Linked DNA regions of Homo sapiens: all the other regions are linked to region 4. Evidence: promoter capture Hi-C in human tissues and cell types (Jung and others, 2019). All regions are on one chromosome and are shown on one strand. The core of a region is centred on a gene start or on the middle of the fragment in contact, and the rest is flanking DNA. Distances in the headings are between cores, read along the strand shown. Region 1 holds the start of GJA3 (gap junction protein alpha 3). Region 2 has its middle 18 kb from the start of ZDHHC20. Region 3 holds the start of ZDHHC20 (zDHHC palmitoyltransferase 20). Region 4 holds the start of XPO4 (exportin 4).

Region 1 (5,164 bases), core at 2,302-4,801, 740 kb before region 4:
AAATGGCAGCTCAGAGAGGGTCCTGAGACTTGCCTAAAGTTGCACAGCCCACAGTGCTGACACCAGCACAGAAGTGCCCAACCTCCAACTCCTGGCCCAACTTCCCTTCCCCTCCCACACCACTTCATGGGCGATGCAGCAGGCAGACTGTTCAGCTTATGACACTATGTATTACATGCCTTTTGCATTTTATTATATTCTAACATACTGGAATACATATGTTTAGAAATGTGGGCTGGAGTACATGTTAAGCTTTCACTTTTTTTTTCCAGTCCAGACTGTCTCAAGGGGGGTATTTTTATCTTTTATAAAAATGGTTAAATATTACTGATATGCTAAGGACAGCCCAATTACTTCATCACAAATTTGAATTATCTTTTTTTTTTTTTCTGTCACACTTATGGCTTACTGCAGCCTCAATCTCTTGGGCTCAAATGATCCTCCTGCCTCAGCCTCCTGAGTAGCTGGGACTATAGGTTTGTACCACCACACTGGGCTAATTTTATAAAAAATATTTTGAAGTGACTGTATCTCACTATATTGCCTGGGCTGGTCTCAAACTCCTGGGCTCAAGAGATCCTCCTGCCTCAGCCTCCCAAAAAGTGCTGGGATTACATGCATGAGCCACCACACCCAGTCAGAATTATCTTTTTAAAGTAAATTCAGATATTTTTACTCTTGCTTAGTGAACAAAATCCCACAACCTGATAATTATGGTATTTTATTATTCCACTGATATTACTGATAAAAATTACATCTGTCAAAATATTTTCTATTTTTTTGCAGAAATAATTTCTATAGTATTAGTATGATTTCACTTTTCTTACTCAAATCTACTTCTATTGCTGTGTAACCAGAAATTGCTTCTATGTTCTAGAATAAAAGATTTATTTTAAAATCAACAGGAAATGGAGTTTCAGGAATAAATAAGCAATAATCCATGGAGATAATCAGGAGGTCTAAATGTAAAAAGCTAATTAATTTTTATATCTAGTATCATTAGTTTGTTAACAGTAAATTTAAAGCAAACCAATTCTTCAAATTAAATAAGACACATAAGAGTGTGGAAACTATTCACATCAACCATTACTTTTGGAGATGTACAGGAGTTTTAAAAAAGCAAGCAGTAGGCTGGGCGCGGTGGCTCACGCCTGTAATTCCAGCACTTTGGGAGGCTGAGGTGGGTGGATCACCTGAGGTCAGGAGTTTGAGACCAGCCTGTCCAACATGGTGAAACTGTGTCTCTACTAAAAATACAAAAATTAGCCAGGCGTGGTGGCGCATGCCTGTAATCCCAGCTACAAGGGAGGCTGAGGCAGGAGAATCGCTTTAACTGGGAGGCAGAAGTCGCAATGAGCCAAGACTGTGCCACTGTGCCATTGCACTCCAGCCTGGACAAGAGCAAAACTCTCAAAAAAAAAAAAAAAAAAAAAAAAGAAAAAGAAAAAGAAAAAAAGCAAGCAGTAGAGTACTAACCTAGTTATCATGAGGAATTTTCCACCACTGTAGGAATGAAAATTAAGATGAAACTTTATTATTTTTATTGCCTTTAAGCATTATACAGAAATTGCAGAAACATACTGTTTTTTAGAGACATATATGCTGTTGTCACATATATTGGATTTTTTCCCTCCTCAATTCAGTAAACATTTATTATTATTATAAAACATTATTACCTATTGTGTGTGGCACTGTGCCACACACTGAGGACAGCAAAACAATTAAGATCCAGTCCTCACTCTCAGGAGATTCATTTGCAATCTATGAGAGAGGCAGAGTGGCAAAAAACAGATCAAAATGTAAGTACTACATAGTACTGGGAATAGCTACCATCCAGCGGAGGGAGGAAGAAGGCATGGTGGTAGACGCCTGTAGTCCCAGCTACTCGGGAGGTTGCAGTGAGCCGAGATCGCACCACTGCACTCCAGCCTGGGTGACAGAGCGAGACTCCATCTCAAAAAAAAAAAAAAAAAAAAAAAAAAAAAAGGCTGCGATAAACGTAATTTTTCGTTTCAAATGTAGTGTGTACACGTTATTTTAGCTAAGAGAAATGAATATAATAAGTTAAAATGTGAGTAACATTCAAGAAAACTGGGTCAAAAATATTTTCCTTATTGGCAAAAAATTTTGTTACCCGCCATTCTTTTAAGACAGCTTTCAGCCAGTTAACGGTTCCTGGTTAAGAAACAGTACTGTCTGATTTGTTAGAGTAGTACCGTTTCGTGAATTACTTTCCACTACAGCAACACATGCATTGCCCTTATGAGATGCTTATCTCGATATGAACCAAACTGCTGAGCAGGTGGAATCTGTGCCAAACTAGCTGATGTTTACTTTGAACACACTGATATTCGGAAAATAAATCCCTCTTTTTTCCTCTTTAATCTTTTAATGTTTGTCTTGCACATGGATGGACCGCCAGTGAAGTGATGCGCACATCATAAATCACCATGGTTTTTAATTCCTGGGTGATGAGACCCATAATTCGCTTGTCAGCTGTTTGTATAGAATCATTTTTAAATGGCATGTTTTGGAGACATCTTGATAAAATAAAAACTGGAGTTCTAAAGTTGCAGTCACATATTCACGAACCGAGAACTCTACATGGTAGGATGAATTTTGCTCACTAGTGTGGAGTCGGCAACAAAGCAAATGCAGCCGCGTCACTGCCGTTTGTTTTCTCAAGTCTCCTACGGGAAGGGGCTCGGACAGTGCTTTTCCACTCCTCTGCAAATTCCTTATAGTTGAACACATCATAACAAACATACAGGTCGAGAAATCTGGTCGTGGCATTAATAGCTACAGTGTTTCTTAAAAATAAAAAGTTTTAAAAAGTTTCTGAAAAAAATGTAGGCGAGCCAACCTTGTTTCTAAACAATCCCAACAGGACTTTTAGGAGCACGGCGATGCTGAATGCCCGTGGACGGCTGGGTGCGCGCCGTTAGCTGGCGCGGTGACATCTGCTTAGAGTTTTCAAGCATTTCAGCATCGCTAGGAGCCCTACAGCCTGACGGTCCGGGACAGCCCGGCTTCCTCCACCCGAGGGGGAAAACAACCCCAGGAAAACAACTTAAACTCGGCCTTGGACTGTCCATCAAGGGAAGCCAAACGAGGCGCTGCTCTCCAGACCTCCAGGAGCAAAGGAGGAAGATCAATTATTCCAAAAGTTTCTCACAAATTTCCCGAGCTCCCCACAACTTTTTGAAGAATCCTGAAAGAATCCTAGGGGGCTGGGAGCCGCACACGTGCCGGGGCTCGGCTTCCCAGCTCGGCAGTCTCAGCCCGCTGGGCTCGCCCGGCAGCTCCGCTGCGCCGCCGACCCGCCCGTCCCCGCCCCGCGCTGCCCTCGGCCCCTGTGCCTGGCCTCCGGGGCGCCCGGCCCGCCTTACCCCGCTCTGCCGCGGCGGCGACCCGGGTGCGTTCCTCCGGAGCAGGGCTCCCGGCCGCTCTGAAAAGAATTCCTTTCACACGTGCGGTGCTGCTTCACGCGTGCGCCCCGCGCCAGGGCCCGACCTCCCCGCCCTGATCGCCATCCCTGCAGCCCCAGTGTGCGCTGCGCCCGACGCCCCCAAGCTGCAGCTCAGGACGCCGCGCCACGCCCCCGCCGCCTCCGAACAGCCCCGCCCCGCGCGCTTCCCAGCACGCACACCTACCGCCCCCGCATCCCTACCCTGTACGCGCAGCCACAGCACTCGCCCGCGTCCGCATTCCACACCCTACCCCGCGCGCACGTCCATGCCTAGCGCCTGCATCCCCATCCCGCACCTGCGCGGGCCCTGGGGATGTGGACGCGGGGGCTCTTCCCTGCCGCCTACGCACTCCGGGGCATGCCCGCGCGGGACGTGAGAGGAGAGCCGAGGGCTGTTGGGGCGGGCCCGACCCGCTTGCGGGGCGCCCACCGCACGCAGATGCGCCAGCCCGCGCCCCGCTCGCGCCTGTCCTGGGCTTCGCAGGCCCGGCGAGGTAGCTGCTCTCCGGGCGCTCCCACGGTCGGAGGCGCGTGGGCGTCGGGCACCTAGGTCTCGCCCGCCTGCAGCCGCCTGGGGACGCGGGTTCCGGACGGCTGGCGCGGGGCGGGGCGGGGACCACCGAGCAGGAAGTCCCCGCGGAAGCGCCGCCGGGCACAGCGTGGGTGCTGTCGAGGAGTGGCGCCCGGGCGGGGCGGGAGGTTATAAATAGCGGCCGCCATCCTGCTTCTCTTCAGACACACTTAATTTAGCCGGCAGGCACACGGATGCTTATTTTTAAAAAAAGAACTTGTTTTATTGCGCTCGAGGTGACCGGGAAGGTGTCCCCGCGGGTCACTCGCTCCATCTGGTCCTGGAGACGAGATGCCAGGGCGAGGCCTAACCTGCCTGCTGGCGCCCAACGAAGATTTTAACGTTTTCTGTTCCCTTCGGGGTGGTTTTACCACGCTTGAGAGGGACGCCTACCGCGGAAGGCCGCGGACCGAGGGCGGCATCGCGTCCTTGTCTGCTGTCTGGGCACAGCCTAGAGAGGCCGCGGGTCCCCTCCCCGTCCCCCAAGGTCTGGAGTGGGGTTTGACCAGCCTGGGATATTAACAAATATCGGTGGACTGCATTTCGGTGATCATTCCACAAGCTGAAATGGCTTCAAAATCACCTTTATGAGTAATAAGTTTATTCCAGGAATGTGGCAAAATGCAAGTCTGATAGTTTTCGTGTCTTCATGGAGCAGCTTCCGTCGGCTGCCTTCGTTAGCGTTTAGATCTACTCGGATTAGCAGTTGGCTTGCCCTGAAAAATGCGTTTGTTCTGCTGAGATCTGAATTTAAAGTTATCCCAAGGAGGAAAAACTAAGCTCCTAAAGGCGCATCTAAAATATCTTCTCCCTTTGGGAACTTTGCGGTGTATGTATGGAGTAGGTAGTAGTTACGGAGACTTAGTTTTTAATTTTTAATTGAAAAATGCTACCTTTGAAGGTCTTAAAATACTTGAATATTTTTCTCATTTAAAACATTTTCTCTGAGAAGCACAGGAATAGTTTTTTTTTTTTTGTTGATCACAAAAGCACTAGGAATTGTTAATATTTGTAGTCTGTTTGCCAAATGCTATTATTGGTATTCTGAGGATAAAAATGGAAATATAATATTGTAATAATTTTAAAATTTTTATTAAAATATAGATTTTAAATTATATTATGTA
Region 2 (5,092 bases), core at 2,197-4,696, 580 kb after region 4:
TCCGGAGTGGCTGGGAATACAGACGCCCGCCACTACGCCCGGCTAATTTTTTGTATATTCAGTAGAGATGGGGTTTCACCGTGTTAGCCAGGATGGTCTCGATCTTCTGACCTCGTGATCCACCCGCCTTGGCCTCCCAAAGTGCTGGAATTACAGGCGTGAGCCACCGCGCCCGGCTGTTTCTGCATTTCTTGAAGTTTGTCCCTCACAAAGCTTCCTGGCTATTATTCTCTGATCAGTCCAGGTATATGTTGTTGATTGTATTTAGGCTACAGGAAAAGTCTGGGCTAAGAGGCTGCCACTGAAAACATTGATTAGTGTCACAAGTCACATGGGAGGCAAGTTGTGAAATGACCAGAAAAGCAGGTTTTTAGAAAACATTATGTAGCTGCACTATCTCTGTTTCTCTATTACTGTGATATCTCTCTTAGATTACTTTGGACTGAGAACTGATGAGTTCCTGGTAAACAAAATCAGACTAGGCATGCCGTCCTAGACATTGAGAGGGGCAGATGCCAAGCTCTTGAGTGTGCGTGTGTGGGGCAGGGGGCTGCATTTAGAACAGCCTTTGTAGTCAAGTACCCAGTCTATGCTAAGTCTCTGTGTGATATAGTTAGGTATTTCTCCTATGCATGATTATTTAATTAAAGACTGTCACTTTCCTTAGATTGGAAAGTTTTTAAAGGAAGGACTATTTCTATTTTGTTTATCACCGTGAGTCCAGCACATCTTCAGGCACATAATAGGCACTATATTATATTAACTGAATGAATGAATGACAAGTAACTTGGAGTTAGAAATGTCCATGCTTTTCCTACAGTTTTCTCAACCTCCCCATAACTTCAGTCACAGAAACAGTCTTGTATTATGGTGATTATATTCTCTAGTACTTATTAGAATAGTGCTATATTTACTTACACTATTAGGTAAGAAGACAGTTGTGGATTAGCCTAAGGACTGAGTTATATTGCAGAACACAGTTAAGGATAGATTGAATTGAGGTCTAAACAACTTTAAAGCATATGGGAAAGATACAGATTGTGGAGTTGGGGATATTTGGATTCAAATCCCAGCATTACCACTTATTAGCTATGCATTGTAGAAATTAACTAATCTCCCTGAGATTCAGTTTCTCCTCCTGTAAAATAGGAATAATAGTATCTTTCTCATAGCATTTATTGTAAGGATTAGGGGAAATTCTTTGTTTTGTTTGTTTGTTTGTTTGTTTGTTTTGCTACAGAGTCTCGCTCCATCGCCCAGGCTGGAGTGCAGTGGCACAAACTTGGCTCACCTCTGCCTCCTGGATGCAATCAATTCTCCTGTCTCACCTCCCAAGTAGCTGGGACTGCAGGTGCCCGCCACCATGCCGCCCATCTAATTTTTGTGTGTTTTTTTTTAGTAGAGACGGGGTTTCAACATATCAGTCAGGCTGGTCTCGAACTCCTGACCTCAGGTGATCCATCTGCCTCGGCCTCCCAAAGTGCTGGGGTTACAGGCGTGAGCCACCACACCTGGCAGGAAATTTTATATATATGTACACATAGGTCTAAATATAGCTCATGTAAGAAATACATATGTACTTACATGTGTATATATCTGCATTTTATATATAACACATATGTATATGGAAATATTCTAATATGTATATATGCATGTCTGCTATGCCTCTACCTCCTTATCTACCTGTGTTATAAATCTGCAGTTCCTGACACATGGTCATTGTATGAGTCAGGGTCCACATTAAGTATTTCAATAGATTATTATTATTATTTTTTTTTAGGACTGGGGAAGGGGAGCTTAACAGAAAAAAAATTAATAGAAGGAGCTGGTTAAACAGGTGCTAGAAGAGTGAAGAAGCAAAGAAGAAAGTAAATGCTGGAAGCAGCTACCACTCCCTGGTCCAGGGTACTAAGAGAAGAGGCTGGGGGATTAAAATCCAGAAACTGGAAAGAAAGGCCTGCCGTTCCCAAGAGGCGCCTGGTGCCAGTGCCTGGGCGGGTGGCGGGAGCGGGGAGAGGACACAATGTGGCTGGTTCCGGGAGTGCAAAACAAAAACAAAACAAAACATAAAAAAAACCACACACACACACAAAAAAAACCAGGAGACTGGTACTAACCGCTGCCAGGATGAAGGCTGAGTACAGACACAAATAACACTGACCGGACACAGAGAGGAACGAGCCCCTTTCCCTCCTCCCGGCTTGCAGGCTCCCTCTACTGCCCCCTATCGGCAGAGCCTAGCACGTCGCCAGCAAGCAAAGGGAAACGGGTTTTGCAGGGTCTGGGACCGGCCCCATCATGACAAAGCCAAGTATGTGTGCAAGCGAGGGGATGGAACGGAGAGACAATAGCTTAGTAACTTAATTTACTCATTCGCCATTTTAACAGCTGCCTAGAATTTCATTGTACAATTAGAGCACAATTTATCCATTTTCATGGTGCTAGATATTTATGTTGTTTCTGAATTTTTATTTGAAATGATGCTACTGTGAACATTCCTTTAATTCTTTTTGGATCATAAAATTTTGGGGAAGAGCTCGCATGACATTCTGCAAAGCATAAAGGAGTTATTAATATATTTTCACCCACTATTGAATGTTTAAATATTATATAAGTCTAGGTGTGGTAAGTACTATAAGCACACTGTTTTCTCCCATTTCATCCTCTTGGCAAGAGAACTCTCCTAGAAAGAAGACTAGCACCTAGCAGAATGCTTTGAATAGAGCAGGCTTCAATAAAGATTTGACATTGATGATACTGAAGAGATAACCTGGCTAGTAACAAGATGTTGCATAGAGATTCCAAACATTAATTTCCTTCCTTGCCGAATGTAAGCAAACACAAACAGCAAGTGCTAATGGTAAATGTGGTAAAGCACTAATTTCTCTGAGTTGGTCAATATTTAGCTGAGGCATGTCAGTTCAAAGCCTCCCACAATGTTTCTCCTTCATTAAGCAAGTCATCTCTGAGATATTCTGTAATTTTCTGTATATCTTCTTTATTATATGGTTAGTTTTTCTGTTAAAGATCATGTGTGGGCTGGGCATGGTGGCTCACGCCTGTAATCCCAGCACTTTGGGAGGCCAAGGCAGGCGGATCACGAGGTCAGGAGATCAAGACCATCCTGGCCAACATGGTGAAACCCCATCTCTACTAAAAATACAAAAAATTAGCTGGGTGTGGTGGCTAGTGCCTGTAATCCCAGCTACTCGGGAGGCTGAGGCAGGAGAATCTCTTGAACCCAGGAGGTGGAGGTTGCAGTGAGCTGAGATCGCGCCATTGCACTCCAGCCTGGGTGACAGAGCGAGAGACTCTGTCTCAAAAAAAAAAAAAAAAAAAGATCATGTGTGGGCCGGGTGCAGTGTCTCACCCTGTAATCCTAGCACTTTGGGAGGCCGAAGCGGGAGGATAGATTCAAGCCAGGAGTTCGAGACCAGCCTGGGCAAAATAGCAAGAACCCCGTCTCTACAGAATAGTTTTAAAAATTAGCTGGGTGTAGTGGTGCATGCCCCTAATCCCAGCTACTTGGGAGGATGAGGTGGAAGGATCGCTTGGGCCCAGGAGTTTGAGGAACCCTCAACTTCACTCCAGCCTGGGTGGAGCAAGGCCCTGCCAAAAAAAAAAAAAAAAAAAAAAAAAAGGCCGGGTGAGGTGGCTCACGCCTGTAATCCTAGCACTTTGGCAGGCCAAGGTGGGAGGATCACTTGAGGTCAGGAGTTCAAGACCAGCCTGGCCAACATGGTGAAACCCCATCTCTAATAAAAATACAAAAATTAGCTGGGCGTGGTGGCAGGTGCCTGTAATCCCATCTACTCAGGAGGCTAAGTCAGGAGAATCGCTTTAACTGGGAGGCAGAGGTTGCAGCGAACCTAGATGGTGCCACTGCACTCCAGCCTGGGTGACAGAGTGAGACTTTGTCTCAAAAAAAAAAAAAAAGAGAGAAAGGAAGGGACGACAAAGAAAGGAATGAAGAGAGAGTGAGAGTAAGAAAGAAAGAAGGAAAGAAAGAAAGAAAAAGAAGGAAAGAAAGAAAGAAAGAAAAAGGAAGGAAGGAACAGAGGGAGGGAGGGAGGGAAAGGAAAGGAAAGTAATGCTTGGTGTATGCAAGGCAGATAAAAATTTTTTGGAAAAGCAAGGCTGCCACCTTGTGGAACATTTGTATTGAATGCTTTCACTTTAAATCAACTGTAACGCCACAAGTGATTTGCAGGATTCTTTTAATTTTTCTCAATACGAGTTTTCTCCCTGCATTTCATCATTTTGTCTCATTCATTCTATGGCATCGATGTGGTATTAGTGTCAGTTTGCACTCCAGCTTTTGAAGATATGCAGTTTCCATTAAAGAAAACTTAGTGACTCACTTTTCCTCTACCGCCTCTGTCTACGGATCTGTGTGCTTATCTGCATGGAACTCTGACTTTGAAGTCTGTCTTGTACTCCCTCAGAAAAATATCAGGAAAATGTCTTTAAAAGTCCATTAACTGTTACAATTTAGAATTAAACACCTGTCACTTCCAAGGCAGAGGTGAGAAAATGTGAAGTTAAACAAATCACAGGGGATGCCTCCTCTGAGCATGGAAACTTCTCTCCCTAACTGGCTTGAGTTAGGTTCAGCTGTTCAACATGTGCACTTGATGTTGGATCTTCTTTGGCATGATGTTGGCAGAGACATTGGAATCTAGAGAACTGTTTAAGGCATGAACCTGGCAACGTGGGCGCTGCTTTTTCTCCTTTCTTCTCCTTCCCTTGCTTATACATCACTGGGGCAGAGGTGAGGGGTGGCAGAAATATCACTTATGGGATCAGAAAATGAAAACCCAGGACTCAAAAGGCTGGCAGCTGAGGGTCTAGACGACTCCTCTCTGCTTACTTAAATCCCTACTGTCTTACCTCTTGGCCCACAATAAAAGTAAAACATGCCCCAGGGAGAGAAAAAGCAAAATATTATGAATTGAATTAAAACCGTGTACATAGCTCTTAATTTATCGCATGCTGTCAAATGTATTGGCTATAAAGGGATAAGTATGTCAAAGTCTTGGAGCCAGGCAGCCAATTTGAAAGTTCTCCTGGTTGGCCGTGGTGGCTCATGTCT
Region 3 (4,989 bases), core at 1,346-3,845, 560 kb after region 4:
AAGACCTTTCACCACCAAATATTTTAAGATTCTGCCAAGCATCAGGCCATAGTTATAGAATGTTTTAACTTAATGAAATTGTAGGGTATAATCTCTACAGAATGGGCCTCAAGCCTAACTAAGTGATCTCCAAAAATATGCCAACCCCTTTATCCCCCCACACCATTATGGACCAAACAATTACAGTTCCATTGACCCTCATAGCTTACTGAAGTTATATGAAAGAACGGAAAGATGTGGGTCACATTCCAATAATCAATTGTGTGACCTAACCAAAAGGACCTATTCGCTCAGTCTCACGTCCTCCACCTGTAGAGATACCTATGCTGTGACATACTGAAAGAATTAAAGGAGAGGGTGAATGAAATGTCCCCTCTATGCCCACTAGCACATGGCACTTCTCAATTCATGTTCATTTCTCCTTCTTTATTTGAAGTGGTGAAAGAAATCAGAAGCAATTTAAGACTTTTCACAGCACTGTTTGATCTCATTTCTTAATATTTTTGACAAAAACCATCTACAGGTTAAGCTGTGGAATCTCAACATAAATGCACATTTTTAGTGTTCCTTCAGCTTTACTTCAAAACCACTACGGGAATTAAAATACGGTAGGAATAATCTTCTGACAGAATAGGAATGACATAACTTTTAGAATAAATGCCCACTTCAGAGTAAATAAGAAGATAAAGGAGGTATCATCATAAGTTGATGAGAATCCTATGATCACTACCACTTTCTGGAAGTAGCTCCCAGAAATATTAAAATCTAGTAATTTTAATTGACTCAAACATCATTTTTAGTAAACATTCTGGTATCCAAAAGCATGAGACTAAACAATGATATTGAAAAGATTAATATTATTTGGAAATGTATTCCACAACTAATTTATTCTGGGCCTACCTGCAGGGATAGTCGTCCCAAAATTAAACGTTCTATAGGTACAAAGTAATTTTAAAACTGGATGTTTTAATTTCAAAACTTATAAATTTTCTGAGCCAAAGCATTCTCTTCCATGTATAGAACTAGGGTTTTAACCAAATACTTGGTTGAAAGCTGTACAAATCCAAACATAATTGAAGTCTTGATTCTGCCACTTTCAAGAGTGGGTGGTACAGATTCTTCTCATTCATAACATTAGTTTCTAGCTGATGTGGTTCGTTATTCAAAGAACACTTAACAGTCCTTCATAAAATGGTAGATTCAGTCTAAGGACTAAGAGTAGAACATTCTGGAATAACAATAACGTTTACAAACACCACTTACCATTTGGTCCTAGGTTTTCATAAAAAATTGATATAGGCAGCAGATGTATACAGAACACCCTAGTTGAGGCCAGTTTAAGTGTAAAATACCCACATACTCAAAGCCTAAGAACAATTTACTTAAGACAAAACAATGTTGGAGAAATTGCCCAATATCACAAATGTAGCAGTCACCCCTAAACAGTGTTTTTGATTAATGACAACCAATTTCCTTCAATCTTAAAGGCAACCAATTCAAGCCAGTAGGTTAAATCCTTGAAGTATACTGCAATGCTACTCCTTTTTTCCAGGGAATCAGATGAGAATTTTGTGCTAAGAACTTATCAGGAAAATGGAAGTAACGAAAATTAACACGCCAAAATATGAGTATAAGAAATATAAGCCTCCTTAATAATCAGCCAAGAAAAAAATAATCAGGTTATGTCTCCTCCCACCCATTCTTTCTGTCTTAACCTTCTGCAAAAGCCGGCTGGATTCAGAGTAGAAATAAACGAATTTTACAATGAGTCGAGTACCACCAAAAATCAAAAGTGGGAGCTTACTCGTCCTCCAGGTCTGACCCGCCTCCAGCCCGAGGCCACCAAAAGACACACCTCCCTTCCCCCAACCCGCCACAGCCGGCTCTACAGGTAACAGGCGTTTCTTCTCGCGCAGTTTGAACAAAAACAATCCAGAAGGAACAGATTTGGTTTTTTAAAAAAAATGAACAAAAGCCAAAAAAGCCACAAACACAACCTAAACCTTCTAAGAAGCTCGACTACTCCCGTTCTGCACGTTCCTTCCCAGAAGGATGCAGACCCCCGGTGTCGGCGGGAACCAGGAAGCTCTTGGGGCCTCCCTGGGCCAGACCTGCACCCGGGAAGCCGCCGCAAGGCTTCAGGAGCCCCAGGTCGCCCCAAGGCCGCGCCGCAGGATTGAACAAAGCGGCGGGTGCAGCAACCTCGGCGCTTCCGAGCGCGTTCGGGGCCGGACGCCCGGCGTCCGGCGCTGGCTCCAGAAAGGCGGCGGGTGTGGGGCGCAGAGGCCTATCTCGCGCCCTAGCCGCGGCCCGCGCCCCGCCGCAGTCCCCGGGGACGGTACTCACACACGCAGAGCTCCACCACGTACGCGTAGTAGGACCAGACGACCACGAAGGTGATGAAGAGCACCGGCACCCAGCCCACGACGCGCTGGCAGCAGCGCCACAGCGTCCAGGGCGCCATGTTCCGCTGGCGGCTGCCGAGCCCCGCGTCCCACCGTTCTGGGGAGCGCGGGAGCCCCGGCGACGGTGACTCGGACGCTCCAGGCGGCTGCTGGTCCAGCTCCCCCGCCTCCGAGGCAGGACTTGTGGGAGCAAAAGTCCGAGGCGCCGCCGGGACTCCTCCCGTCCCGGCGCCCAGCCAGGCCCCGCCCCCACCCCACATCCCGTCGCCCCCCTCCCCCCGCGTCCGTCCCCGCCAGCCCGCCCGCCGCGGGCCGCGGGCCGCCCCCGGTCTCCGCGTCGTTGGGGCGGGGTTTCCGCGGCCGGGGAGGCGGTGAGGGGGCGGGGCCGCAGCTCGGGACCGCCCATGGGGCGTGGCGGGGCTGGATGCGGACAGGCTGGGCGGACGCGGGAGGCCGGGGAAGGAGAGGCGAAAAACACGCCCTTGATGGATGAGAGGGACAGGGGATAGCTTTTGTGGATCGAGACTCAATAGGGGAGGGAGACTATGGAAATGATTCCTTAGCTGATTTGTGGATCTTGGCCCTCTCTGTGTACAGAACTCGCTCCACTGGGGTTCCTGGGACATTGAGTAGTTGGGGCACTGTTTCAAACATGACAAGGCCATTCCCCACTCAGTGTGCGAAGAATGCACATTGTTAGAAGGCTCCTCCTGTGATTTTTATGTTCGTCCATCTTGGCGGAACCCCTCCCTTTCTTGAAGATGGAACGGTAGATACCTGTAATTTCGGGTAGAAGCCATGTAGGGTCCATCAGTTTGATTCGTAACCCAAATTTAAGATTGAGTAGCGAGAAGGAAAGGGCATGTAAATGACCCTCTCCTTGCCCCGCAAACGACTAAGGAAATTTAAAGAATTTATTTACAACTAGAGGTTGCTAAGCAATGACGATAATCATATAGAACCCAGAAGCATCACTGTGAAGACTTCACAATGCAAGGTCAGACGCATTAGAAGGGATTCCAGACCGCAATCTTCATACCAGTTCCTGCTACTAGCATTCAGTTTTGGTTAGAATGAATTTTTGTGTTTGTTTTTTGAAACAGGGTCTTCTCGCTCTGTCGCCCAAGCTGGAGTGCAGTGGCACGACCTGGGCTCATTTAAGCCTCGACCTCCCTGCTAAAGCACTCCTCCTGCTTCAGCCTGCAGAGTAGCAGGGACTACAGGCCCGCCACCATGCCCAGCTGATGTTTGTATTTTCTGTAAAAACTAGGTTTCGCCCTGTTGCCATGCTGGCCCTGAACTCCAAGGCTCAAGGAATCCCAACCCCTCTCCGCCTCCACCTCCCAAAGAAGTGCTGAGATTACAGGTGTGAGCCACCACGACCGGCCTACACTGAGCTTTAAATTAGCTACTGCTCACTAAAGTCTCCATGAAGAAGACGTCACCCTTTGCTGTGTCAGAGAAATGTAGTAAAAGCGAGTAAGTATTTAATCACTGCACACTGCTGCTTGAGTAATAAAGCATGTATAAAAGATTCTGTTCTCCCTGATTTTGTGCCTTAAAAGTCATATTAGTTAGTGGCCTAGTTGACAGTAGGTTTAGGTTCAAGTTCAACTAGTTTTCCAGAGAGGCTGCTTAGGAGGGTTAGACCTCAACATAGAATTCGGATGGACATGGAAGAACATAAAGCCGTTTCTCCTCTATGTCATCTCTACGTACCAAAACCATGCTGCTAGAGCTCAGCACAAAGCCATGTCCTTTACAAGCTCCAGGGCTGCTAGAAATGATCTTTCACGACATTTTGTTTATAACCTAACTATAAAACTGTCACATTCGTTTCCTAGGGTGACTATAACAAAGTACCACAAAACTGGGGAATAATAGAAATTGGTTGTCTCACAGTTTAGGAGGGTAGGTGTCCCAAATCAAAGTGTTGGCAAGGATATTGGATATGGTTTGGATGTTTGTCCCCTCCAAATCCCATGTTGAAATGTGATCCCAGTGTTGGAGGTGGGACCTGGTGGGAGGTATTGGATCATTAGGGTGGATCCCTCATGAATGGTTTAGTGCCATCCCCTTGGATGAGGGGTTCTTTCTCTAGTAGTTCACATGAGATCTGGTTATTTAAAAGAGCCTGATCCTTCCCCCACTCTCTCTCTTGCCCCCTCTCTTGCCATGTGACATGCTGGCTCCCCTTTGCCTTCTGCCGAGAAGGCAGAAGTCTATCTCTGTGGTCCTGTGTCTTCAGAGATAAGGATGTTCCTTTGTCTGGGTAGAGGGAGGGCACCTCTTGAATAACAGTCTTAGGTCTGCCTTCAGGGGAAGGCCTGAGACGCTTTTGCTAGTGCTATGGCCTGCTTCAGGGGAGAAGAGCGAGAGGAAGGTGAGAGGGACCTTCCTGTTGCTGTTGTCTCCAATGTTGTCTCCAACTGATGATTGGAAGCTTCTTGAGGCCTCACCAGAAGCATATGCTGACCCCATACTTTCTGTACAGCCTGGAGAGCTGTGGGCCAATTAATCCACTTTTCTTTATAAATTACCCAGTCTCAGGTATTCCTTTATATCAGTGCAAGAATGACCTAAC
Region 4 (4,940 bases), core at 849-3,348:
TGTCGCCCAGACTGGAGTGCAGCAGCACGATCTCGGCTCACTCCAACCTCTGCCTCCTGGTTCAAGCGATTCTCCTGTCTTCGCCTCCAGAGTAGCTGAGATTAAAGGTGCCAGCCATCACGCCCGGCTAATTTTTATATTTTTAGTAGAGATGGGGCTTCACCGTGTTGGCCAGCCTGGTCTTGGGCTCCTAATCTTTAGTGATCCGCCCACCTCGGCCTCCCAAAGTGCTGGGATTACAGGAATGAGCCACCGCACCCGGCTGTAATTTCCTGTTTTTAATAACATGACACTTTTTTCAATACTACTCTCCTCTGAAAAGATAAAAAGCATTTAGACAAATTATTTATACAACATATGACAGATGGGGTAGAGTGGAAAGACACACAGCTTTAGAGCCAGACAGAACTGAGTTCAAGACCTAATTCAGCCATTTAGTAATCGTGTAACCCGGGCCACTTACAGTTTCTCAACCTTGTAAAGCAAAGCTGTTGCAAGAATTAATAAAATATGTAAAGTATGTAAAGCATCAAGCCCAATATCTAGCACTCAATAAACGGTACTTACTACTATTCTTCTCACCTACTCCTTATAGGGGATAAAAGCAGCTTTGCCAGGGAAGAGGGAAGATATTGGAAAACACAAATACTAGTTTATATTAAGCCAGTGACGAAGGACACTGATTTTACCTGATCAGTGTAAGAACTACAGCCGTGTTTTGGGTGGCATACTCCTTCCAGAATCCAATGAAAACGGAGCCCCTAGCTCCTAGGAAAATTTCAGGAATTTTACAAAACGCTCTATGTCAGGGATTTTTAAGAATCTTTTATTAAGGGGAATACTAGCTAGTTACTTCTGCTTAATTTGCAAAAGTGTGAAAACCTTCACTAGTCTGTTTTGTGACAAAACGTACATTAAGTTAATATTCATAATGAAGCAAGTAAATCCTGCTTTTATTAGACTTCTCGATTTCTAAAGAAACAAAAATATCTGGTGTAAAATATTAGAACTACAAACTACGCTAGAATTAGTTCGAATATTCTCAAATGTGATGCTCAAACACCCTAACACCAAACCAAAAGGAAAAAAGTCCAAAAAGGTAACAAAGCTGGCTGTATCCAATTCTTAGAAAGTCTGAATCAATCCAGGTATCAAATGAACCTCTAACTTCCCAAAACATCTACAAACACCGAAGTCATAATTTGCAAAAACAAAGCTGAGCCAGCAAATAGAAACACTGTTTACTAACTGAACGTAGTTTATCCTTACTTCTCCTCCTTGCATGTAATACTTTTATCCTTTGACTCGGCCTTCTCAAATTCCCTTAGTAAACAATCTCATCAAACTGCTTATTGTAGTGTAAGCATGAAGTCAAAGAGTAGCATAGACTCAGTTCTCCAAATCGCGGGAGCTTTAAGGAGCTTAGCACTAGACCAAGTTTTGCCCCAATGACCTTGGTCTCAACGATTCCCCTCCCTCCCTCCAGCCGGCCCGGCCCTTCCACGTGCTGCCGGCTGCAATTACTCCAGAGGTGGCTGCATGTCAGGGAAGCGCTAGAGGATGCGAATGCACAGGAAACAAGGGTTGCTAACAGCACCCAGGCTGTGCCATCCAATCCCTCCCGACACCAACTCCCCAAGAGCGCTCACACAGCCCTACAAATTTCCCCTACCGAAGCCCTGCGGGGATAACCCCAACTCCTTCCCGGCGCCTTGCTCTGCGACCCAGTCTGTGGGGCAGGGTGTAAGGTGAAGAAATTCTCTTTGCTACACCACTATATTCCCACGCCCGACTGGGGTGCTGGGCAGCCAGGGGAAGGGGACAGCTCCTGGAAGGAGGGGACGACGGCAGGAGGAAAGTAGGCTGAAGAATCCTGCGCCACGCCACCGCCACCTCCTCCTCCACTTCCAGGCTCCCTGCAGGCCCTTGCCAGTCGCCAGCCCAGCGAGCAGCAAGGCCTGGAGTGGCAGGGCCGACCGGGGGCCCGCGAATCCCGGGGTCTGAGGGGCGCGGCGTCCTCACCATCAGAACTTTAGCCGCGTTCTCCAGCTGAGCGATCACTTCTGGGGGCCCCAGCGCCGCCGCCATCATGGTCTCTCTTCAATGACGCGCCATGCGCTGCATTCTGGGAGCGGGCGCCGCGGCCGGCCAATCGCCGCCGCGACCCCGGAGCCTCACGCGCTCCCAGGGCCGTCGCAGCCGCTGTCGACACCGGCGTCGCGGCCTCGGCGGGTCTGGCCGGGCTGCCGGGTTCCGGGTGGCTGGGAGGGGACTAGTGTGAGCCCGGCCGCCGCGCTGGGGCGGGGGCGGCCGCAGCCGGCACCGGGCGAGGCCGAGGCGGTCTGCCCAGACTGCTGCAGCCGCGCGCCCCGCTAAGCTCCCAGCCCCGCGCATGCGTGGTGTCCGGCGCCCCGGCCTCGCGGTGCCCCCGGCCCTCTCCCCACTACCCTAGTACAGCCCGCCCGGGGACCCGCAGATCCACGACGCCAGTTCGCTCCCTCCGTTCTCAGCCCTGCACACCGCCTCCCCTGGCTCCTCCTTGCCCTTCCACGCTCCAGCGCCGTGCAGGATTTCCTAAACTTGGAATCGCTCTTCCCGCTTTCCCCTCCTCAGAGCGCACCTCCTTTCAAAGTATCTCTGTCTCCTGCTTCTCTGTTCCTTCTTGCCATGGGAGAACATTCCAGGATAGAACGCTTCGTTTTCTTTCTTTCTTTTTTTTTTTTTTTGGAGACAGGGTCTCACTCTATCGCCCAGGATGGAGTGCAATGGCCCTATTTCGGCTCACTGCAACCTCCGTCTCCCGGGTTCAAGCGATTCCCCTGCCTCAGCCTCCTGAGTATCTGGGATTACAGGCGCCCGCCACCACGCCCGGCTAATTTTTGTACTTTTAGTAGAGACGAAGTTTCACCATGTTGGCCAGGCTGGTCTCGAACTCCTGACCTCAGGTGATCCGCCCGCCTCGGTCTCCCAAAGTTCTGGGATTACAGGCGTGAGCCACCGCCCCCGGCCGAACGCTTCGTTTTCATAATGGAGGGCTTTGGCCTTCTGCAGGACAATCATCCAAATGTATCTGGGCAGCGGGTCGCTAGGAGACCCTAGGAGGAAAACCCGTCTTTGGCTCTTGCCGTTTTCACTCTTTAAGGGCTGGCTCACATAGGAGAGGGAGAAAGCAGGGACAGGAAAGCCTGACCTTGACTACCTGGCTTCTCAAATGCAGTAAGATGAGCTTTGTCGGCCAGGCGCTGTGGCTCATGCCTGTAATCCCAGCACTTTGGGAGGCCAAGGCAGGCCTCATTTTAGCTCAGGAGTTCGAGACCAGCCTGGGCAACATCGTGAGACCCTGTCTCTACCAAAAAAAAAAAAAAAAAAAGCCCGGTGTGGTGTCTTGCGCCTGTGGTCCGAGCTTCTCGGGAGGCTGAAGCGGAAGGATTGCCCAGGAGGTCGAGAGTGCAGTGGGGCGAGATCACACCACGGCACTCCAGCCTGGGTGAGAGGCTGATCCTGTCTCAGGAAAAAAAAAAAAAAGGACAAAAATCAGCATTGTCGTGTTTGTGGAATCCGTGTTGAAAGGCATATTAGAGTATCAAGTAATTAACCTTCCCTCCGGTGCTCCAGTTGCCTCTAGGACATTCCACGCAAGTGGTCCTGACAGCTGTTTCAGTATTCAAACCAGTGCTGTTAGGTTGTTCGGATCAGGGGTTTGTTTCGTTTTGAGCTGACATCTACGGTCTACATTCCTATAACTTCTTTTTGGTGCTTATTCAGCCTTCTGAAACAACACAGACAGTCAAATTCGTTTCAGTATTTTTAAGTTTATTTTTTGTTGAAATCTTCCTGTTTCTTATTCCTAGTTATAAGAAAGCCATACTGTTGAGGTTTTATGTCACTGCAACAGAATGTCTGTGTGTGTGTGTGTGTGTGTGTGTGTGTGTGTGTGTGTGTGTGTGTGTGTTATGGAGTCTCTCTCTGTCACCCAGGCTGGAGTGCCATGGTGCCATCTCAGCTCACTGCAACCTCTGCCTCCTGGGTTCAAACGATTCTCGTGCTTCAGCCTCCAGAGTAGCTGGGATTACAGGTGTGCACCACTACACCTGGCTAATTTTTGTATTTTTAGCAGAGACGGGGTTTCACCATGTTAGCCAGGCTGGTCTTGAACTCCTGACCTTAGGCGATCCGCTGCCTCAGCCTCCCAAAATGCTGGGATTACAGGCATGAGCCACTGTGCCCGGCCACACGGAACTGCATTATTAGCTCCGTTGGAAAATATGTTGTTTCTTGTACTTGAAGTCTCTGCAACTTGAAGTAGAGAAAATGAATTAACAAGGTTTGTATTGCTTGAGAAACTAAGTAAGTTTTATTTTATTACTGAAGTTTAAAGTGAGCCAAAATGCAGTTAATGGTCCTTTTTAGTAACTAAGTGTTTATCATAGGGCCTGACATATAGTAGGCACTCAGTAAATATTTGACCAAGTATAGCAATCTACAAGAAAATTACAAAATGATTCTAGTTGCTGCAAAGAGTAATTACCAAAGATCAATGATATTGTGCAAATATGTAGATAAACAGTTTGTGACAGTAAATGTTTGAGGCTTATAATGCTTCAGATTGGGCCTTGGGTTCCAAAGTATTTATTTTGTGCAATTACATTAGAACTTTGCAACTACACGTGTTTTAAGAAAGAGGGCCAGGTGCAGTGGCTTACGTGTGTAATCCCAGCACTTTGGGAGGCCCAGGTGGGCGGATCACCTGAGATCAGGAGTTTGAGACCAGCTTGACCAACATGGAGAAACCCCATGTCTACTAAAAAAAAAAAAAAAAATACAAAATTAGCCAGGTGTGGTGGCACATGCCTGTAATCCCAGCTACTCGGGAAGCTGAGGCAGGAGAATCACTTGAACCCAGGAGGCGGAGGTTGCGGAGAGCCAAGATCGCGCCACTG

Evidence for each region. Contacts are between HindIII fragments. The study calls those that stand out against the background at their distance.
Region 1: the fragment with the promoter of GJA3 here is called in contact with the fragment with the promoter of XPO4 in region 4 in 1 of the 25 tissues and cell types used here (lymphoblastoid cells).
Region 2: a contact is called between a fragment that was not itself captured here and the fragment with the promoter of XPO4 in region 4, in 1 of the 25 tissues and cell types used here (lymphoblastoid cells).
Region 3: the fragment with the promoter of ZDHHC20 here is called in contact with the fragment with the promoter of XPO4 in region 4 in 1 of the 25 tissues and cell types used here (small bowel).

The regions. Positions count from the first base shown.
Region 1 is chr13:20,157,501-20,162,664 of GRCh38, forward strand. GJA3 (gap junction protein alpha 3) reads right to left here and starts at 3,552. Exons shown (of 2, transcript NM_021954.4): 1 at 3,390-3,552. RefSeq lists silencers at 3,283-3,372, 3,533-3,612, 3,843-4,202. The HindIII fragment of the contact is 27,118 bases long and covers 1-5,164 here.
Region 2 is chr13:21,474,975-21,480,066 of GRCh38, forward strand. No RefSeq gene overlaps it. Among named protein-coding and RNA genes, the nearest start is that of ZDHHC20, 18 kb to the left of the region's middle. RefSeq lists a silencer at 2,334-2,383. The HindIII fragment of the contact is 9,938 bases long and covers 1-5,092 here.
Region 3 is chr13:21,456,708-21,461,696 of GRCh38, forward strand. ZDHHC20 (zDHHC palmitoyltransferase 20) reads right to left here and starts at 2,596. Exons shown (of 13, transcript NM_001330059.2): 1 at 2,347-2,596. The coding sequence starts at 2,464. It overlaps LOC124903131 (a long non-coding RNA gene), which reads left to right and starts at 2,840. Exons shown (of 2, transcript XR_007063713.1): 1 at 2,840-3,472; 2 at 3,676-3,939. RefSeq lists a silencer at 2,509-2,888, an enhancer at 2,752-2,921 and a cis regulatory region at 2,837. The HindIII fragment of the contact is 17,074 bases long and covers 1-4,989 here.
Region 4 is chr13:20,900,648-20,905,587 of GRCh38, forward strand. It overlaps XPO4 (exportin 4), which reads right to left and starts at 2,099. Exons shown (of 23, transcript NM_022459.5): 1 at 2,023-2,099. The coding sequence starts at 2,091. RefSeq lists an enhancer at 1,862-1,911 and a silencer at 2,122-2,501. The HindIII fragment of the contact is 40,685 bases long and covers 1-4,940 here.